Linked DNA regions of Homo sapiens: regions 2 and 3 are each linked to region 1. The links are contacts of gene promoters, found by promoter capture Hi-C in blood cells and fetal thymus (Javierre and others, 2016). All regions are on one chromosome and are shown on one strand. The core of a region is centred on a gene start or on the middle of the fragment in contact, and the rest is flanking DNA. Distances in the headings are between cores, read along the strand shown.

The links. The method cuts DNA at HindIII sites, captures the fragments that hold promoters and counts their contacts. A CHiCAGO score of 5 or more calls a contact.
Region 2: a fragment that was not itself captured here is called in contact with the fragment with the promoter of WFDC5 in region 1 in 3 of 17 cell types (total B cells, naive B cells and endothelial precursors); the score reaches 6.5 in total B cells.
Region 3: a contact is called between a fragment that was not itself captured here and the fragment with the promoter of WFDC5 in region 1, in 1 of 17 cell types (M1 macrophages). The highest score is 5.3, in M1 macrophages.

The regions. Positions count from the first base shown.
Region 1 is chr20:45,113,694-45,116,531 of GRCh38, forward strand. WFDC5 (WAP four-disulfide core domain 5) reads right to left here and starts at 1,481. Exons shown (of 4, transcript NM_145652.4): 1 at 1,306-1,481. The coding sequence starts at 1,390. RefSeq lists enhancers at 917-1,418, 1,419-1,918. The HindIII fragment of the contact is 2,929 bases long and covers 1-2,629 here.
Region 2 is chr20:45,771,368-45,774,205 of GRCh38, forward strand. No RefSeq gene overlaps it. Among named protein-coding and RNA genes, the nearest start is that of WFDC3, 19 kb to the right of the region's middle. RefSeq lists enhancers at 1-293, 294-886. The HindIII fragment of the contact is 3,130 bases long and covers 1-2,838 here.
Region 3 is chr20:45,676,397-45,679,234 of GRCh38, forward strand. No RefSeq gene overlaps it. Among named protein-coding and RNA genes, the nearest start is that of WFDC11, 7.6 kb to the left of the region's middle. The HindIII fragment of the contact is 531 bases long and covers 1,143-1,673 here.

The sequences.
Region 1 (2,838 bases), core at 231-2,730:
CAATCTGGCCTTGTCTAAGTCATTCTTTGTTCTCTCAGCTCCTTCCTATGTTGGGGGTGCATTGTCCTGTACAGTCCTGGGTTTTTGCTGTAATAGTTGGTAAAGTGAATCTTTCTGATTTCAAATACTTGCACTCATGCACTTGCTAATCTGGCCTTGTCTAAGTCATTCTCTGGTCTCTCAGCTCCTTCCTATGTTGGGGGTGCATTGTCCTGTACAGTCCTGGGTTTTTGCTGTAATAGTTGGTAAGGTGAATCTTTCTGATTTCAAATACTTGCATTCAAATGCCACATTTGGCACTAACTCAGAGTCAGTCTTTGACCTTGTTAAGTGGTTCCCCGCTATGCCTCAATTTTCCTCATCTGCAAAATGGGGATGAAAATAGTCCTGTCCTCACAGCACCTTGTCGAGGAGTTACGTGATGATGGTGCATGAATCACAGCCAACACAGGGTCCAGCCTTGGAGCTCACCAGTGTACTTCCTTCCTCAGCCTGTCCCCATTACTGTCCCCTTTCTTTAAGGCAGGGCAAGGGTTGCACAGGTGAATGTAGGTTGGAGTGTTCCAGCCCCAGAAAAGGACGCAGGTGGAGGCCTCACCCAGATCAGGAGTCACCTGTCTAGCCACTCAGCAGCCCTCCCTCACCTGTCAGCAGGCCAGCCCCAGCCTTGTCAGGGGTGGGAATGGGGACAGGAGGTTGGGGGCGATGAGAGTTAGAGACAGAGCTTCCTCCCCACAAAGCCCAGATCCCAGAAGCCACACCCTCTCCTCAATTCCCAAGTCCCTTCCACAGATGGGGTGGTGGACCCACTGACCCAGTCACACCACAGCCCAGCAGGCACAGACAGGGTCCCTCCCCACACCTGAAGGCACAGAGACACACATGGACAGGCACCAAGCTCAGACACATGCGTGCAGCCATTCCTAAGTGTACGTGTGCAGACAGAGCTTTGCACAGACAAGCAGACGCAAAGACACATGTCTACACAGACACAGGCACATGCATTCCCCGCCCTGCCACCCCCTGACATATAGACAGGCACAGACAAGCACCGAGAAACTGGCAGAAAAGACACTTACAGATACCAACACAGGCAGGTGGACAGGCACAAATGTACACACATAAAAACACAGGCTTCTGAAAGCACTAAGAATCAGGCATCCACACATACACACACGCACGCACGCACACACACACGCGCACACACACCCCACAGGGCATTACCTGCCTTCCCCCAAACCCTTACTCTCCCTAGAGAAGTAGAGACAATCTGGTCCCCCCAGCAGAGGGATTTCCCGCACTCACCTCCCTTCTTCCTGCCAAAGACAGCAGGCAGCTGACTCCCCACAGCCAGGAGGGCCCCCAGGAGGAGAAGGCTCTGGGTCCTCATATTTCTGCTGCCGGCTCAGGGCCCAGGGCCCCCCAGATTAACACCTGCAGCCTCAGGGAAGCCAGAGAAACTTAGTCAGGAGAGGAAAGAGAGGGGGTGTGGAGTGACACCGTGCCTGCTTCATCTTGGCCCCACCCCCTGAGGGCCCGAGGACTCAGTGCAAGGGATGCTGTCACAATAGCTGAAGATAGGGTGGCGGCACATCCTGCATGTGGGGGACTCAGATCCAGTCTTGCCTGTATCGGTGACTTGGGCTGTGATCTTGGGCAAGTCTTGTCTCTCTGGGCTTCAGTTTTTTCATCTGTACACAGGGTGAAGGTTGTTGAGGCAGATGCTTGCTATCCTGGCTCTCAAAGATGTTGAAGCCCCAGCGATGTCTAGGCAGCGGGTAGAGGTCAGCTTTGAATAGCAAAGGAGTGGGGGTTTGCAGAGTTCTGGATGCCTAGGAAGGGAGAAGGCATTAGGGTTAGGCCAGAGCTTGCAGCCAAAGAAGGCTGGCCCAGGCTGGCATAATGAGTGAGGCCAGCCCTGGCCTCTCCTCTTGGGTCCTGTGGATGGGAGAAAGACCACCCCGCCTTTGGTGAGATCACCAGTGGCTTCTGATAGAACTGCCCTCTTCCTGGGGCTGGCTTGGCTGTTGAGGGTGGGGGAGCATGGCTTTTGGCTTGGCTAAGTTTGCTGGTCACAGCAGATGTGTGGCCACTGGAACCTCTTCTCTGGCCCTAAGGGATCCTGAGCAAAAAAATGTCATCTCATCCAGGGACCCCCACCTTAGATTTCGTATCTCTGATGTTGCCTCCTGCATTTGGTAGAAGAGAGGGAGCTGAGACTTGGCATCCTAAGGGACATCCTAAACAGAAACTCCATCGAAGTACATTCTCTCAGCCTTCTCATTTGAAAGACGAGGAAACTGTGAGATAGAGATGAGAGGGGACTGGCCCAAGGACACGCAGCTAATTCCTGACTAAGCTGGGACTTCCCACTGTGGCCTCCCCATCACCCTCATTCAGTTCCTGGGTTTTAAAAGCAGGTCAATACCTCATCTGATCCTGAGAAAGGAGGGTGATATTACAGGGCTTGTCTCACTTACCCATTCCAATCCAGGACAGCCCTGGCAGCAGGAAGTTCTTCCTTGGGTTTAATGTGAATCTCTCGTGCTGTCTTCTAAGCTATTAAGATAGGAGAGGCTCTGTCTTCTATGATCTGATGTTGCTTTTGGAATGCTGGCACCTCCTTGGAAGCTTTATTTTGGAGGACAAATATATGAGCCCTTCCTTCCTCCCTCCCTCCACCCCTCCCTCCCTCCACCCCTCCCTCCCTCTTTCTTTCTTTTTTCTTTTCTTTCTTTCTTTTTCTTTTTCTTTCTTTCCTTTTTTCATTTCTTTCTTCTTTCTTTCCTTCTTTCCTCTCTTTCTTTCCTTTCTCTTTCTTTCTTTTCTTTCTTTCTT
Region 2 (2,838 bases), core at 203-2,702, 660 kb after region 1:
AAAGAATTCTTTCCAGTCACATGGCCTCTTCTTTGTTTATATTGCTGAATCTGTGGGAAGCTGGGCTTCTCCACACAATCCCTTGAGGAGAAGGCTTAACTTGTATATGAAAGGAAAGACACCTCTCCCAACTCAAGAGCAACCCACTGCCAGGATACGCTCTGGGCCTCCTGCCTTCCTCACCCCACTTACACGCCTTACCAATAACATCATGCCCCCACGGGAGCAGTGGAGGCTGCAGGGGCCCATGGTATTGCTGGGGCCAAGGGCACATATGGAGTCTGAGATTTCTACAACCAGATGGTCAAGAAGCAGGGTGGAGAAGGGAGGAGCTGCGTGGTTCTGGTCAAAGAACAAGTCTTTCTCAGCCTACACTGGAGCCCCAGACATTCCTGCCCACGATGAGGAAGCTGAGGAGCAGGGCGGGGGAGAAGGGTGGCTTTTCAACCTGGTCAGAGGCTAATTTCGGGGTGCAAGGTGAGAGAGTAGGATCACGGTCCACTGAGACCTGCTCCTGGGTCATTTCCACCCCAGGACCAAGGCTGAAATGGACTTAAACCCTGAGGAAGGAAAGGTTCTAATGGCTTCTTTAGTTCAGGGTCCAACAGTAGAGAAAGCTGCCCAGAAAGACCTGGGGGTGGGAATTTGGCCCCAGCTCAGCCTTTAACCGCCAGCTTTCAAATTTAACCCTTCAGCACTCTCTCTCATCTCTATCTCTCTCTCATCTCCATCTCTATCTCTCTATACATCTATCTATCTCTCTATCTCTCTCGACGTTGCTACCTGTAAGCAGGTCAGCAGCTCCCTCTGGAAAGGGTGAGCCTCCAGACGAGGAGGAAAGGTCTGCAAGGAGCAGCTCTCCCATTGCTCAGCCTGAGCTGTGCCTGGGGCTCACACCTGTCTCTCCAGTCCCACTCTCCACCCTGACAGAACATCATTCTGCAATATGAGAGGATTCCCAGACTGTTGTTTTTCATTGAAAGTTCTACCATACTGATGATTTTTTTTTTTTTTTTTTTTTTTGAGATGGAGTTTCGCTCTTGTCGCCCGGGCTGGAGTGCAATGGCAGGATCTCGGCTCACTTGGAACTTCCACCTCCCAGGTTCAAGCAATTCTCCTGCCTCAGCCTCCTGAGTAGCTGGGATTACAGGCGTGCACCACCAAGCCTGGCTAATTTTTGTATTTTTAGTAGAGACGGGGTTTCACCATGTTGGTCAGGCTGGTCTTGAACTCCTGACCTCAAGTGATCTGCCTGCCTTGGCCTCCGAAAATGTTGGGATTACAGGCGTGAGCCACTGCACCCGACCACTGCTGAGTGTCTGTGCCTTCTCCCCCTTGTTTTCATCCTGGCATGTGAAATTCTGGTTTCTACCTGGTTCAGAACATTTATCTCTTTTCAGTACAGTAGACATGTCAATGTTGCCTGATCTGAAAAAGAGTGGCTGGCATGAACCTCGCAGTGGCCAACCCAGAAACATCCATGACTCCAGGATCATGTTGCAGGGAACTGGGAAGGGCCAGTGTCTGTGTGATGGGCTGCTGAACATTTTGGCAGATCCCTCTTCCACTGTTTTATCATTTTGTTGTTTATTTAAAAACTCGAATACATGCACATAGTTTTTTTAAAAATCATTATATCATCACACCACCACACCCGGCTAATTTTTGTATTTTTAGTAGAGACAGGGTTTCTACTAAAACAGTCAAAGGCACAGCTACTCAGAAGGCTGAGGTAAGAGAATTGCTTGAGCCCAGGAGGCGGAGGTTGCAGTGAGCGGAGATCGTGCCACTGCACTCCAGCCTAGGCGACAGAGCAAGATTTCGTCTCAAAAAAAAAAAAAGATAACTAGTTAAATAAATTACCCATTTCATAGAGTTCTATTAAAAGAATATACGTGATGACATGAAAGATCTCCAAGATACACAATATAATCCATTTCATATAAATAAAAAACATAACTTTAAAAAATTATCTTGGTCCCAAGAACCTAGGGATATCCCCTCCCTAAAATAAAGCTACCTGGAGGGGACAAACTGCCTGTCTTGGAGCCAAGGGCTGGCCCTCAAGGAAGGAGGTCCAAGGTGGGAACATTCCAACATCTATAAGAAACTAGCCACTCGGCTGGGCACAGTGGCTGACGCCTGTAATCCCAGCACTTTGGGAGGCCAAGGCAGGCAGATCACCTGAGGTCAGGAGTTCAAGATAAGCCTGGCCATCATGGTGAAACCCCGTCTCTACTAAAAATACAAAAATTAGTCAGGCATGGTAGCGCGCCTGTAGTCCCAGCTACTCGGGAGACTGAGGCAGGAGAATCACTTGAACCTGAGAGGCAGAGGTTGCAGTGAGCCAAGATTGCGCCACTGCACTCCAGCCTGGGCAACAGAGTGAGACTACATCTCAAAAAAAAAAAAAAACTAGCCACTCACCCTTGTTCCACCCTCAACCCACATTCTCCAATAAAAGAAAGAAGGTCAGCAGGTCTAAAAGAGACTGACCTCCACCCCCACCAGGGCTTGAGAAAGACATCTATGGCAAGTCACTCTCAGTTTAGTTTCCACCCTCAACCCACATTCTCCAATAAAAGAAAGAAGGTCAGCAGGTCTAAAAGAGACTGACCTCCACCCCCACCAGGGCTTGAGAAAGACATCTATGGCAAGTCACTCTCAGTTTAGTTTCCACCCATCTCTTCCCTAGCCACACCCAACCAAAACCCATTTTCAGTGTCCTCACAAAGAATGGATTACCCATCTGTCCTAAATATGTAAATCGTACAATCCCACAGGCACACACATACCCTCTAGCTCTCCCATATCATCTGAGCCCTCAAATAGCACAAA
Region 3 (2,838 bases), core at 158-2,657, 560 kb after region 1:
CCAGGCGTGAAGTAATATTTCATTGTGGTTTTTATTCGCATTTCTCTGATGATTAAAAATGTTGATCTGAGCTTTGTCAGCAACAAGTAAAAATAAATAAATAAGAAATGTTGAGCATTTTTTCATATATCTGTTGGACATTTGTATGTCTTCTTTTGAGAAATGTCTACTCAGGTCCTCTGCCCATTTTTTAAATAGGGTTGTTTTCTTGTTTTGAGTAGTTTGAGTTTCTTACATATTTTGGATATTGGCTCCTTATCTGATTTATCATCCAAATAGTTTCTCCCAATATGTGGGTTATGTCTTCACTGTGTTGTTTCCTTTGCTGGGCAGAAGGCTTTTAGTTTAATACAATATTATTCCCCTATTTTTGCTTTTGTTGCTTGTGCTTTGGGAGATCATATCCAATAAATCACTGCCAAGACCAATGTCATGAAGCTTTCCCACTATGTTTTCTTCTAGTAGTTTTTACGGTTTCATGTCTTACATTTAAGTCTATGATTCATTTTGAGTTCATTCTAGTATAAGAGGTAAGATAAGGGTCCACTTTCATTCTTCTGCATATAGATATAGTTTTGCCCACACCAATTATTGAAGGTACTGTCCTTTCCCCATTGTGTGTTCTTTGGGCCCTTGTTGAAAATCAATTGACCATAAACGTATGGGCTTATTTCTGAAATCTCTAACCTATTCCATCAGTTGCTGTGTCTGTTTTTATGCCAATAGCATGCTGTTTTTATTACTATACCTTTGTAATACATTTTGAAATCCAGCAGTGTGATACCTCTATCTTTTTCTTTTTGGTAAATTTGTCTTTGGCTATTCTGGGTTTCCAGTGGTTCCATGTGAAGCTTCAGATTATTTCTTTCTGTTTCTGTGAAGAATGACATTAGAATGTTAATATGGATTGCATTGAATCTGTACATCACTTTGGATAGTATGGACATTTTGCCAATTTTGATTCTTCCAGTCCGTGAACATAGGATAGCTGTCTGTAAGTTCTTCTAGTAAAAACACACTTTACTGACAAACTGGATTTCTCTGGTTGTTTTTTTGGTTTCTTGGCTCCTTCAGCATTTGGGGGACACTTTGCACATATGGCCCTCACATGAAACAGTCCTTTTAGCATTTTTTATAAGACAAGCTTAGTGTTGGTGAATTCTCTCAGCTTTTGCTTGTTTGGGAAAGTCTCTAATCTCTCCTTCATGTTTGAAGGGTAGATTTTTGAGGGTTAGCAGGTTTTTCCTTCAGCACTTTGAATATAACATCTCACTGTCATCTGGTCATCAGGGTTTCTATGAAAGCCATATTGAGGCTTCATCTAATGTAATATGTTTCTTTTTTCTTGCTACTTTGAGTATTCTTTCTGTCTTTGATTTTTGATAATTTTATTATTATATGCCTTGTGGATTTCCTGTTTGGGTTGAATTTCATTGGTGACTTCTGAGCTTCCTGCACCTGGATGCTGTCATCTTTCTCCAGATTTGGGAAATTTTCAGCCATTATTTCTTTAAATATGCTTTGTGGGCCCTTTCTCTCTTGTCTTCTCTAGGAATTCTAATTATGCAGAGGTTAATTTGCCTGATGATGTCCCATAGTTCTTGTAGACCTTCTTCATTCTTTTTTTTCTCTTTTTGTTCCTCTGATTGGTGATTTCAAATGTTCTGTCTTCAAGCTTGCTAATTCCTCTGTTTGCTCAAGTCTGCTGTTGAAGCTTTATAATGAGTTTTTCAGTTCAATTATTTTATTCTTTATTACTAGTATTTCTATTTCTATTGCTTGGTTTTTTTTTTCATTGTTTCTATAAATCTTCAATTCTTCTGGGACCATTCCTGGAGCTTTGTTGATTTCTTTTGATGGTATTGAATATTTCTGAGTTTTCACAAGCCTTGTATCTTTACATGGATGCCTGCATATTTGAGGCGACTGCCAACTCTTCCAGCTTTTGCAGGTGCTCTTTCATGGTGTTAGACCTTTACTTCTTAGTATTAGAACTTAAACACTGGCCTGTTGTTGCTTTACACTGTAGAGAGGGCTTAATAGTGAGCATCAGAACTAAAACATTGCACTGGACCTAACTCATTGCCCTGTCATTGTTTCCCAGTGTAAGGAAAACTTATAGTGAGCACCACAGCTTAAATGCCCTGGAACAATATTGCTGCCCTACTATTGTTTCTCAGTGTGGGAAAAACTTAGGTGGGTACTGAAAATCTTGACCTTTTAGTTGTTTCTGGGCCAGGGAAAAGCTTCACATGTGCACCTGGGCTTTGTGGATTTGGGCCTTCCCATAAATTTTGTCCCCTACAATACTCTGGCCCCCCCACCAGTCTCTTCAATATGGCATCCCCACTGATCAAAGCACTGAACAATCACCAAGATCCACATGCCAGTTGCTGCAATCAGTGACCTACTCTTTGTCCCCAATTCACCCCAGGTTTTTCAGCCCTCTTGGTTCTCTAGTGGGATGAAACTGGAGTGGACTTACCATTAAGATTCCTAGACAAGTGGGAAGATCAAATATCCACCTCCAATTCCTTCTTCTCATCTCAGCAACTGTGGGTCTAGGGAAGTTCTCTGTGAGTGGTATTATTATGGCCTGGGAGAGAGGGTGGAACAGGCTGAAATGACCATTTCTCTTACCTGTCACTGCTTCTCTCAATTCTATGAGCCCAGGGGGTTTCTCTGCTTCTCAAGTTCTGGTGTATTCAGGGTGGCATTCTTGTCTTTGAATAGTTTTTCATTTTATTTTTGTGTCAGGAAGTGATCCCAGGAGATCTATTCTGCCATCTTGCTGACATCACTTCCCAGTTTAGTCCTGAGGTATCAGGGATGGATTAA